Regions from separate parts of the Homo sapiens genome. Here all the other regions are linked to region 1. The links are contacts of gene promoters, found by promoter capture Hi-C in human tissues and cell types (Jung and others, 2019). All regions are on one chromosome and are shown on one strand. Each heading gives the region's core, a stretch centred on a gene start or on the middle of the fragment in contact. The rest is flanking DNA. Distances are from core to core; before and after follow the strand shown.

What was found. The method cuts DNA at HindIII sites, captures the fragments that hold promoters and counts their contacts. A contact is called where the count stands out against the background at its distance.
Region 2: a contact is called between a fragment that was not itself captured here and the fragment with the promoter of PLXNC1 in region 1, in 1 of the 25 tissues and cell types used here (psoas muscle).
Region 3: a contact is called between a fragment that was not itself captured here and the fragment with the promoter of PLXNC1 in region 1, in 1 of the 25 tissues and cell types used here (aorta).
Region 4: a fragment that was not itself captured here is called in contact with the fragment with the promoter of PLXNC1 in region 1 in 1 of the 25 tissues and cell types used here (heart right ventricle).

What each region holds. Positions count from the first base shown.
Region 1 is chr12:94,147,162-94,149,948 of GRCh38, forward strand. PLXNC1 (plexin C1) reads left to right here and starts at 1,416. Exons shown (of 31, transcript NM_005761.3): 1 at 1,416-2,787. The coding sequence starts at 1,811. RefSeq lists silencers at 1,183-1,312, 1,323-1,572, 1,643-1,872, 2,003-2,242 and an enhancer at 2,443-2,542. The HindIII fragment of the contact is 12,817 bases long and covers 1-2,787 here.
Region 2 is chr12:95,518,280-95,521,066 of GRCh38, forward strand. USP44 (ubiquitin specific peptidase 44) reads right to left here. Exons shown (of 6, transcript NM_032147.5): 5 at 2,718-2,787; 6 at 1-74. Among named protein-coding and RNA genes, the nearest start is that of USP44, 32 kb to the right of the region's middle. RefSeq lists a silencer at 781-981. The HindIII fragment of the contact is 8,001 bases long and covers 1-2,787 here.
Region 3 is chr12:92,924,127-92,926,913 of GRCh38, forward strand. All of the region lies in intron 1 of EEA1 (early endosome antigen 1), which reads right to left. Among named protein-coding and RNA genes, the nearest start is that of EEA1, 3.8 kb to the right of the region's middle. The HindIII fragment of the contact is 4,849 bases long and covers 1-2,787 here.
Region 4 is chr12:95,339,823-95,342,609 of GRCh38, forward strand. It overlaps LOC105369917 (a long non-coding RNA gene), which reads right to left. Exons shown (of 11, transcript XR_001749265.1): 10 at 551-667. Among named protein-coding and RNA genes, the nearest start is that of MIR3685, 31 kb to the left of the region's middle. The HindIII fragment of the contact is 3,015 bases long and covers 1-2,787 here.

The DNA.
Region 1 (2,787 bases), core at 166-2,665:
CCATAGAGGTCCTCAGCACCCTCCACTCCTATGCACCCCCTGGCTCATCTGCCAGACTGTAAGGGTGCTGATGGTGCCCGCAGCTGCCCCGGGAAGCTGGGAGGCATTTGTGCATCCTCTGGGAAGCCCCATTCCGAGAAATCATGAACCTATTCCCCAGTGGGCAATGATTCCCTGTGCTTCAGAAATTCTTGGCGGCTGTGGGGGCAACCCAGCTGTTATTCACCCTCTGGGTGAGGTGGTGAGACCTCAGGGGGTCCAAAGGATAAAAGTGGGTAATGATGAGACAGATGGAGAGCCTCGAGGGAAATACGGGGACTTGGGTCTAATAGTAGAAAGCAGGGCGGGGGCTGGTTGGTGCATTTAACTTGAGGAACTTTTCAGTCTCACTACAGAGAATGATCTCTGGGGGATTATGGCAATGGCCACAGGTGGCACTTAACTAGAGCCAGGTATGTAAGAGGCCCTGGGGCTAGATATGGATTCGAATCTCGGCTCTGATATCTACCAGCAGTAGAATGCCAGCACGTTCCACAACCTTTCTATAACCATTCTCCTGGACTACTAAGTAGGGATGACAATAACAGTCACTAATTAATAGGGCTGTTATGAGAATTATGAGTCTTAACCCATGTGGTGAGTTCACAAGCGCACCCGGCACGTAGTAAGTGCTCAGTAAATGTTAGCCCCGCTCATTAGGTTAGATGGTGAGCAGAACTTTCCAAGTGCTAGGCTTGAGAGCCTGGGACTCTGTTGCCAAGGGAGATTAGAGAACCTTTGCAAATATGGGCGCTCCGGCCCTGGGGATTGTCCAGAACGAGAGTGTGGCGCCTGCCTTTCTGCCACCTCACTCATCCGACCCGGGGAAACCCACACCCTGTCACAGGGGCGCCTTGGTCCCCGGAGTCTCCGGCTCGGCCATGTCTCCCGCGCGCCTCCCCGGGGCCTCCCTCTCGCCGCTCCACACCTGTCAGCCGCTCTCGCAGCAGCCCTGTGGCCCGAGCCCGGGGCCTCAGCTGCAACCCCTTCGCACCCTGGATCCTCGCTCCGCGCGCCTGGCGTATCCCCGACCCGGCTGCTGTCGTAAACAAAACCGGGCGTTGGAGCAGCACCGCGGGCGGACGGGCGCGGGAGCCCGCTCCGTGCGCCGTTAGCGCGCCCCGGGAGCCCCAGGCGAGCCAAGGGGGCGATGGTGGCGGCCGCGGCGGCCGCGGCGGGCGGCTGAGCTTTGTTATGAATAGATGAAAGAGGCCACCTACACAGTAACCCAAATTACGAGACCTCCCTCCTCCCTATCTCACCGAATCAAGAGGGGAGGGGAGATGGGCGTGGAGGGAGGGCGGGCGGGCGGGCAGGAGGCGGAGGGCGGAGGAGGAAGAGAGGATGAGGAAGGGGGCCAGTTGCATCCCACTTTCACAATGGGAAAGTGAAACGCACAAGCGCACCCAACCTCTCCAGCCCTCCCCGCCCGCCTCGCTCCTCTCCGCCCGTCCCCTCCCTTCCCCTCCGCGCCTCCCCGCGAGCGCCAGCGCTGCACACAGGAACTCTCCGGCGAAGGAGGGCGAGGAGGAAACGGTGCCGGAGCGCGCAGGGCTTGCTGCCGCCACCGCCGCTGCACAGGCTGCCGGAGCGAGCCTGCCGCGCGCCGCCCTCCCCGCTCTCCTTCCTGGGCGAGCTGCGGGGATGGGGCGGCCGCGGGAGCCCGAGCGCGCGCAGGAACCGCCGCCGCCGCCGCCCGCGTCTCCGTTGCCGCGCGCCTGAGCCGCCGTCGCCGCCGCGCGCCCTGCCCGGGGGCGGCCCCCCCAGCCCCATGGAGGTCTCCCGGAGGAAGGCGCCGCCGCGCCCCCCGCGCCCCGCAGCGCCACTGCCCCTGCTCGCCTATCTGCTGGCACTGGCGGCTCCCGGCCGGGGCGCGGACGAGCCCGTGTGGCGGTCGGAGCAAGCCATCGGAGCCATCGCGGCGAGCCAGGAGGACGGCGTGTTTGTGGCGAGCGGCAGCTGCCTGGACCAGCTGGACTACAGCCTGGAGCACAGCCTCTCGCGCCTGTACCGGGACCAAGCGGGCAACTGCACAGAGCCGGTCTCGCTGGCGCCCCCCGCGCGGCCCCGGCCCGGGAGCAGCTTCAGCAAGCTGCTGCTGCCCTACCGCGAGGGGGCGGCCGGCCTCGGGGGGCTGCTGCTCACCGGCTGGACCTTCGACCGGGGCGCCTGCGAGGTGCGGCCCCTGGGCAACCTGAGCCGCAACTCCCTGCGCAACGGCACCGAGGTGGTGTCGTGCCACCCGCAGGGCTCGACGGCCGGCGTGGTGTACCGCGCGGGCCGGAACAACCGCTGGTACCTGGCGGTGGCCGCCACCTACGTGCTGCCTGAGCCGGAGACGGCGAGCCGCTGCAACCCCGCGGCATCCGACCACGACACGGCCATCGCGCTCAAGGACACGGAGGGGCGCAGCCTGGCCACGCAGGAGCTGGGGCGCCTCAAGCTGTGCGAGGGCGCGGGCAGCCTGCACTTCGTGGACGCCTTTCTCTGGAACGGCAGCATCTACTTCCCCTACTACCCCTACAACTACACGAGCGGCGCTGCCACCGGCTGGCCCAGCATGGCGCGCATCGCGCAGAGCACCGAGGTGCTGTTCCAGGGCCAGGCATCCCTCGACTGCGGCCACGGCCACCCCGACGGCCGCCGCCTGCTCCTCTCCTCCAGCCTAGTGGAGGCCCTGGACGTCTGGGCGGGAGTGTTCAGCGCGGCCGCTGGAGAGGGCCAGGAGCGGCGCTCCCCCACCACCAC
Region 2 (2,787 bases), core at 107-2,606, 1.4 Mb after region 1:
ATAAGCTTGAGCCTTGCATACTTCATCCATAGTGCACATGCTTAGTTTGGAATCATTGCAGTGTACCCAGAACCCTAGAGTGAAGCACAGAAATACATTTATGAAGGGACTTTAGAAAATTCTAGTATGAAAGGCATTGAGTGAGAAGCTTTTTCTGAAGGGAAAATAATTTTCTAGCCAATTCATTTTTCTTTAATGAGAAATATAGATTGGGCAGTGTTACCCTGGAATTATCTACCTTTATTCTAAAAGTAGCTTAAGTTTTTCACAGCATGTGACTGATTAGAGTACCTGACACTATTTATTCTTTGTGTAAATCTACCAGTTAATGCTTTTGCCACTAATCATACAGGATGATCATCCCTAATTCCAAAATCTGGCCAGGCATGGTGGCTCATGCCTGTAATCCTAGCACTTTGGAAGGCCGAGGCAGGCAGATCACCTGAGGCCAGGAGTTAGAGACCAGCCTGGCCAACATGGTGAAACCTGTCTCTACTAAAAATACAAAAATTCGCCAGGCGTGGTGGTGCACACCTGAATTCCCAGCTACTCAGGAGGCTGAAGCAAGAGAATGGCTTGAACCTGGGAGGCAGAGGTTGCAGTGAGCAAGGATGGCGCAGCTTGCCCTCAAGCCTGGGTGATAGAGGGACTGTCTTAAAAAAAAAAATTCCAAACCAAAACTTTTTGTGCCAACATGATGTCATAAGTAACCCTGAACACATTTTTTTCCACTGTATTAATATTTTTTACTGTGAAACTTATGGGCACATAAGCATAATGCACTTATGTACATTACATGCACATAAGTATGCTAATGACTGCTTATATTAGCATATAAAAATCAGCCAGGAATTATGGTGATGCCAAACCACCAGACTGTCCATATGAGTGGCTGAGATAGTGACACCTTTGTTTGCTGATTGCTCAATGTACAAACTTTGTTATATGCACTCTGTTAATGAAACTGTTTCATTATTTAAAGTGTTGTATAAAATATTTAGGCTATGTGTACAAGGTGTATATGAAGCAAATGAATTTCATGTCTAAACCTGGGTCCCATCCTTACAATACCTCATAATGTCTATGCAAAAAAATCCAAAATTCAAAACACTTATGGTCCCGAGCATTTCAGACAAGGTATACTCAATCTGTATTTTTTTTTTTTTTTTTTTTTTTTTGAGATGGAGTCTCGCTCTGTCACCCAGGCTGGAGTACAGTGGCGCAGTCTCGGCTCACTGCAAGCTCCGCCTCCCGGGTTCACGCCATTCTCCTGCCTCAGCCTCTCCGAGTAGCTGGGACTACAGGCACCCGCCACCACGCCCGGCTAATTTTTTTTTTTTATTTTTAGTAGAGACGGGGTTTCACCGTGGTCTCGATCTCCTGACCTCGTGATCCACCCGCCTCGGCCTCCCAAAGTGCTGGGATTACAAGCGTGAGCCACCGCGCCCGGCCCTCAATCTGTATTAAAAGGCAAATTGGGTCGGGCATGGTGGCTCACGCCTGTAAACCCGGCACTTTGGGAGACCAAGGCTGACAGATCACTTAAGGCCAGGAGTTCAAGACCAGCCTGGCCAACATGGTGAAACCCCGTCTCTACTAAAAATACAAAAATTAGCCAGGCGTGGTGGTGCACACCTGCAATCCCAGCTACTTGGGAGGCGGAGGTTGCAGTGAGCCGAGATCATGCTGCTGTACTCTAGCCCAGGGGAAAGAGTGAGACTCTGTCTCAAAAAAAAAAAAAAAAAAAAAAAAAAAAAGCCAATAGTGTACAATTAACTTGGTAGTTTTTGGTAGCTCAGTGTTGAGTTACCCTGGTGGATTATTGGGCTTCTTGTCCTCACCTCTCTTTTTCTGTTTGGGCTGTGTTGGGTGGGGGTGGGGAGTTGGAGTTTCATTCTTTGTTCAACAGTAAGTATCAAAAGGGGAAGTAAGGCTGGGTGTGGTGGCTCATGCCTGTAATCCCACCACTTTGGGAGGCCGAGGCAGGCGCATCACAAGGTCAGGAGATTGAGACCATCCTGGCTAACATGGTGAAACCCCGTCTCTACTGAAAATACAAAAAATTATCCAGGCATGGTGGCATGTGCCTGTAGTCCCAACTACTTGGGAGGCTGAGGCAGGAGAATTGCTTGAACCCGGGAGGCAGAGGTTGCAGTGAGCTGAGATCGTCCCACTGCACTCCAGCCTGGGCGACAGAGCGAGACTCCATCTCACAAAAAAAAAAGGTGTTGGGGGGAGTAAAAAATAAAATCTCAATCCAATCACTTTTGCTAGAACTAGACTATCCTAGAAGGCAGAAAATAAGTGAGTTTTGTGTGTTAAACTTGAACGCAGTGTTTGTTCCAAATATCTATGATCCCCCAGTTCATTAGGTACCCTATTTCTTTAACGAAATTAACTGAAGTAAACCAGTAAACATACGATCTGCTTTTTGAAGTGTGTCTTTAAGAAAAGTTAACACTCTGACTTTTAGTTAGCAACAAGACTATCCTCATTATTATATCCCTCCAGCCCTTAGTCAAAAGTACTGCAAAACCTACAGAAAATATTTCATGCATTAACTCTCATTTTTTAGTACCTGCAGAGGCATTCTCCCTAAGAAAATAAGTGGTCGAGTAGCTTTGTTTATGATTTAGTAGTCAATTTAGAAATCGGTTAAAGCCTGAACTCCAGCCTCCAAGTCCAACCCAAGATAAAATACTTTTTCTTATCTATACCTCCTTCAGAATTATAGCAGTAGGCAGTGTAGTGCCCTGAGCCAAATCCTTTCCCATGGTGCATCACCAC
Region 3 (2,787 bases), core at 92-2,591, 1.2 Mb before region 1:
AAAAATAAGAAAAGAAAGTTAAACACCAAAAACAACAACAAAACACCAACATTAGCAGCAGCTAACATTTAAGACTTTTTTTTTTTTTTTTTTTTTTTGGGATGGAGTTTTGCTTGTTGCCCAGGCTGGAGAGTGCAATGGCACAATCTCGGCTCACTGCAATCTCAGCCTCCCAGGTTCAAGCAGTTCCCCTGCCTCAGCTTCCCTAATAGCTGGGATTACAGGTGCCCGCCACCACGCCCAGCTAATTTTTTCTATTTTTAGTAGAGACGGGGTTTCACTATGTTGGCCAGGCTGGTCTCAAACTCCTGACCTCAGGTGATCCACCCACCTCAGCCTCCCAAAGTGCTGGGATTACAGGCATGAGCCACCGCGCCTGGCTGAGACTTTTATACATATTAGTTATCTAGTTCTCAACTTTATAAGGAGGCTAGTATTATTACAACTATTTTACTGAGACACAGAGAAGTAACTTCTCCAAAACTACACAGATAGTAAATGAAACAGGATACAAACCCAGGTAGTCTGGCATCAGAGTTCATGTTCTTAACTACTAAATTACATTATTTCTTTAGCTCAAGCAAAAGGCCACTGGAATTAGAGAAGAAAATTGAGTACTAGCCCTGGTTCTTTTCATTTCTTAACGTCTTCTTTATTCTTAGTTCTAGTCCTGGTTCTTTAATATCTTAATCTCTTCTTTATTCCTAACATGCTAAAAAAAAAAAAAAAAAAAAAAAAAACTACTCAAAAAGAAAATCATTCCATTAGCTGTCACTTTTTAAAATTCACTTCAATAAATTAGCAATACTTTCATCAAACTTAGATGGGCAACTAATCTGGGAAGCCTTCCCAACATCTAAAACCAGGGCCCTCTTGCTGGGTGTTCTTGGGGCATCCTGAGTTTGTCCTTCCTAGAACTCATTCAAGAGTATAGTTGTATGAATCTCTGAACAATTCCTCTCTCTTCCACTGGACGCTAAACTCCACAAAAAATTCATGACTACTTTACCCATCATTGTCTGCACAGCACACAGTTGGCCCACAAAAGATGTCTCAAAAAAAAAAAAAAAAACACTAATCACAGTTTTTTTGTTTTGTTTTGTTTTGTTTTTAACACAGGGTCTCACTCTGTTGCTGGAGTGCAGTGGCACGATCTTGGCTCACTGCAACCTCTGCCTCCCAGGTTCAAGCAATTCTCCCACCTCAGTCTCCCAAGTAGTTGGGACTACAGGCGTGCACCACGATGCCCGGCTAATTTTTGTATTTTTTGGTAGTGACGGGGTTTCACCACATTGACCAAGCTGGTCTCGAACTCCTGATCTCAGTGATCTGCACGCCTCGGCTTCCCAAAGTGATGGAATTACAGGCATGAGCCACTAAGCCAGCCCACAGTAAGTTATAATACTTAAGAAAGAAATGGCAACAAGGTTTACAAGCTGCCTAAGGTACTAAACGTTGATTAAATTTCTAACCATCAAGTACTTTAAATTCATGTTTTTCTTTGAAGGACTATTAAGTAAAATATTCAATACATACATATTGGAGCTACTTCACTTTGGTTTTGTTTTGAGGTTTTTTTGTTTTTGTTTTCCAGCTTCTTTCAAGCCTCAGAGAAACACCTTAGTAAGCTAATGAAAAAGGAGGAGCAGGAGGAGGGACAAAAGCAGGAGAACCAGAAACCAAATTTCCGTAAAGTATCCTGAGACTTATTGATGATGTTCAAACACTTTGAGTTCTAATTGATGGTAAGCAGTTTGTCTGTTTCTTCTTTTAAAAAATGCTATTTAAAGGAAACTATTCAGAAGAAAATAAGAATAGTTAAAATGAAAAGTTCATCTAAAAACAAAATGCTAAAGGAATGCCACATAATTTTTTTTTTTTTTTTAGACGGAGTTCCGGTCTTGTTGCTCAGGCTGGAGTGCAATGGAGCAATCTCAGCTCACTGCAATCTCCACCTCCCGGGTTCAAGTGATTCTCCTACCTCAGCCTCCTGAGTCGCTGGGATTATAGGCATGCACCACCACTCCCGGCTAATTTTGTATTTTTAGTAGAGTCAGGGTTTCTCCATGTTGGTCAGGCTGGTCTCGAACTCCCGACCTCAGGTGATCCGCCCGTCTCGGCCTCCCAAAGTGCTGGGATTACAGGAATGAGCCACTGCACCCAGCCAAGGAATGCCACATAATTTCAAAGCACAGAGTCCATTTCAAATAAATCTCTAAATTAACAATAGCTTTAATCTTATAGCTTAATATCTGTGCTGAGAAATAAGATTAGCAGGGAGGGGTAAAATAGGTTGCCATGTTACACAATTTAAAGATTCAAGTTATACTTGTTGGTAAATACCACTTGTAGAGTTAATAAAATATATATTCTACCTTCTAAACTAGTAAATCACCAGATTTAAGACATTTATCAAAATGTCCCTATTAAATACTCAGCATTAACACTGACCCAACTACAAGATAAAAGCTGAACTCCTTCAAAGGGACTCTTACGTCCTCTCACAATTTGGTCTCTAGCCACCACGGTAGCTTCATCTCTTACTAATTGCTACAGACCATCTCACTTCCTAAGCTTCATTGTTCACACTCCTCACAGTACTACCTGCGCCTTTTATGACTCCATCTCTTTGCATTTGCTGTTCCCTCTGCCTGACATGCCCTTCCCTCTTCTGAGCTGTGAATATGCCCCCGTCCCTGAAGCTTTTCCTAATTGCCCTCACCTCCCACAGAGTGCCTCCTGGGTCCTCTGTCCTCTTCATTATTCTATTACATAGCACTGTCATTA
Region 4 (2,787 bases), core at 79-2,578, 1.2 Mb after region 1:
TTTTTTTTTTTTTTTTTTTTTTTTTTTTGAGAAGGAGTCTCGCTCTGTCGCCCAGGCTGGAGTGCAGTGGCGGGATCTCGGCTCACTGCAAGCTCCGCCTCCCGGGTTCACGCCATTCTCCTGCCTCAGCCTCCCAAGTAGCTGGGACTACAGGCGCCCGCCACTACGCCCGGCTAATTTTTTGTATTTTTAGTAGAGACGGGGTTTCACCGTTTTAGCCGGGATGGTCTCGATCTCCTGACCTCGTGATCCTCCCGCCTCGGCCTCCCAAAGTGCTGGGATTACAGGCGTGCGCCACCGCGCCCGGCCGGCCACCTCAGTTTTAACAGAGTATTCAATTTTTAAATTCATTAGAGTAACAGTAAAGATAATGCAACAGTGTTAAATCTGCAGTTATAAGAAGACCTGAAGTCAAGGGTTATCCCAAGGTTGTGATTTAAGCTGAGCTATTTTGGTAGCCTTCTGTTGACCCTATGAATAATCCCCAAGTCATGCAAACATCATACACAACAGCCCAGTCAAAAGAGTCATTATATCTCAAAGCACATACCAAAAAAATTCCTGGGATTATATTGTGCCTTTGAACCAGAAGAGGACAATTGTTGCCCATGAATTTAGAAGCAGATACAATGTTATATTTGAGCAACCGAAAGGAATCCGAATGACTCTAAAAGAACAAAGAGTTGTAAAGATATTAAATTCCAGGCAACAAATCTTTTGCTTCATTCAGCAATATTTGCATCCTTGAACAAAAAATTTAAAACTCTATCCTCATTCCTACATTAGAAATGCCTTCATAAGCTCACCAAAGACCTCTGTATTGCCAAGACCAGTCGACATTTTCATGTTTCTAATATTACTTGACCTATTTATTTATTTAGATAGAGTCTCACTCTGTCGCCCAGGCTGGAGTGCAGTGGTGCAATGACGGCTCACTGTAGCCTTGCCCTACTGGGGCTCGGGTGATTCTCCCATCTCAGCCTCCCTAGTAGCTAGTGCCATAGGCACACATCACCACACATGGCTAAATTTTGTATTTTTTGTAGAGACAGGATTTCGCCATGTTGCCTAGGCTGGTCTGGAACTCCTGGGCTCAAGTGATCCACCTGCCTTCGCCTCCCAAAGTGCTGAGATTAAGGCGTGAGCCACTGCACCTGGCCTACTTGACCTCTTTATGACATTTGAAATTATTGAACAGTGTCTCCTCCAACTCTCTGCTGGGCTTCTATGGCCACTTTCTCTTCTGTCTTCTTTCTGTTTCTCTAGGTCTTGCTTCCTAGTCTTCATTTCATGAAGACTTTTTCTCTACTTGACCTCTAAATATCTATTGTACTAAAAGCTTGCATCTTGTCTCCTGCCATTCACTCTCTTCACACACTCTTTGGATAACGCATAATTCTAACTACTATTTATGTCTACCAAGTGACCAAATGTCTATCAAAGCTAGTGCTCTCCTCTGATCACCAGACCTGTGCGCTGACTTGCCTACTTCTTGATGTCTCTACATTGATGTCACTCAGGTACCTCAAACTCAACATGTCCCACCTGAAATTTTCATCTTTTTCTTCAAATGTTCTTATGGTGGATTGAAAATGGCTGTGTATTCTTTGCCACTCTACCCATCAAGAGATGGAAGGCTATTTCTGTTCCCATTGAATCTGGGCTGGCCTGTGACAGGCTTTGAAAAATGGCAGACTGTGTAACTTTTGAGGCCAGGCATTAAGAGATGTATAGTTTCCATCTTCACCTCTTGGAGTCTTCCTTCTTCAAACAGATGCCACGTTGTGGGGAAACCCGAGCAGCTATGTGGAGAGGCCTTCATAAGGAGAATGGGGCCCACTGGCTAACAGTCATAACTCAGCTCCCAATGGCAGTGGCACTGCCTGCCAGCCCTGTGAAGGAGGATATTTTTCAGCTGTACTCAAACTGTCCCAGCCAGTGCTACATGAAAGAGTCAGGCCATCCCTGCAGGGTCATAAATAAATATAGGTTGTTGTTTTTAAGCTTCCAAGTTTGTTTGTTTGTTTGTTTGTTTTTTGTTTTTTGCTTTTTTTTATAGAGACAGGGTCTCGCTATGTTGCCCAAGCTAATCTTGAGCTCCTGGGCTCAAGCAATCCTCCCACCTTGGCCTCCCAAAGTGCTGGCATTATAGGCCTGGGCCACCATACCCAGCCTGGGGTGGCTTGTTGTGCAGTAATAGATAACAAGACATTTCTTCTCCTCCTCCTCCTGAATTCTCTATCTCAAAAAATAGTGCTACTGTTCTAAGTGCCCAGGTGAGAAGCTGGAGATACCTTAAATTCTTCCTTCACTGACATATCAGATCTTATAGAGTCTCATTTCTAACTGTTACTCATACCCAGCATCCTTTTCCATTCCCACCCACTGTTACTGCCTAATCATTTCCCTCCTAGTTAAAAGCTTAACAGGTCTCTCTGTCACTTGGACCCTTTCCATACCATTCTTCCAAAATAAACAAAATAAACTTTCTAAAATACAAAAAAAACCTCTGCATGTCACTTGTCTGTTTAAGGTCCTTTAATGATGCTGGGTGTGGTGGCTCACGCCTTAATCCCAGCACTTTGGGAGGCTGAGGCAGGCGGATCATTTGAGGCCAGAAGTTCAAGACCAGCCTGGACAACATGGTGAAAACCTGTCTCTACTAGAAATACAAAAATTAGCTGGGCGTGATGGTGGGCGCCTGTAATCCCAGCTACTCGGGAGGCTGAGGCAGGAGAACTGCTTGAACCGGGAGGCAGAGGTTGCAGTGAGCGGAGATCGTGCCAC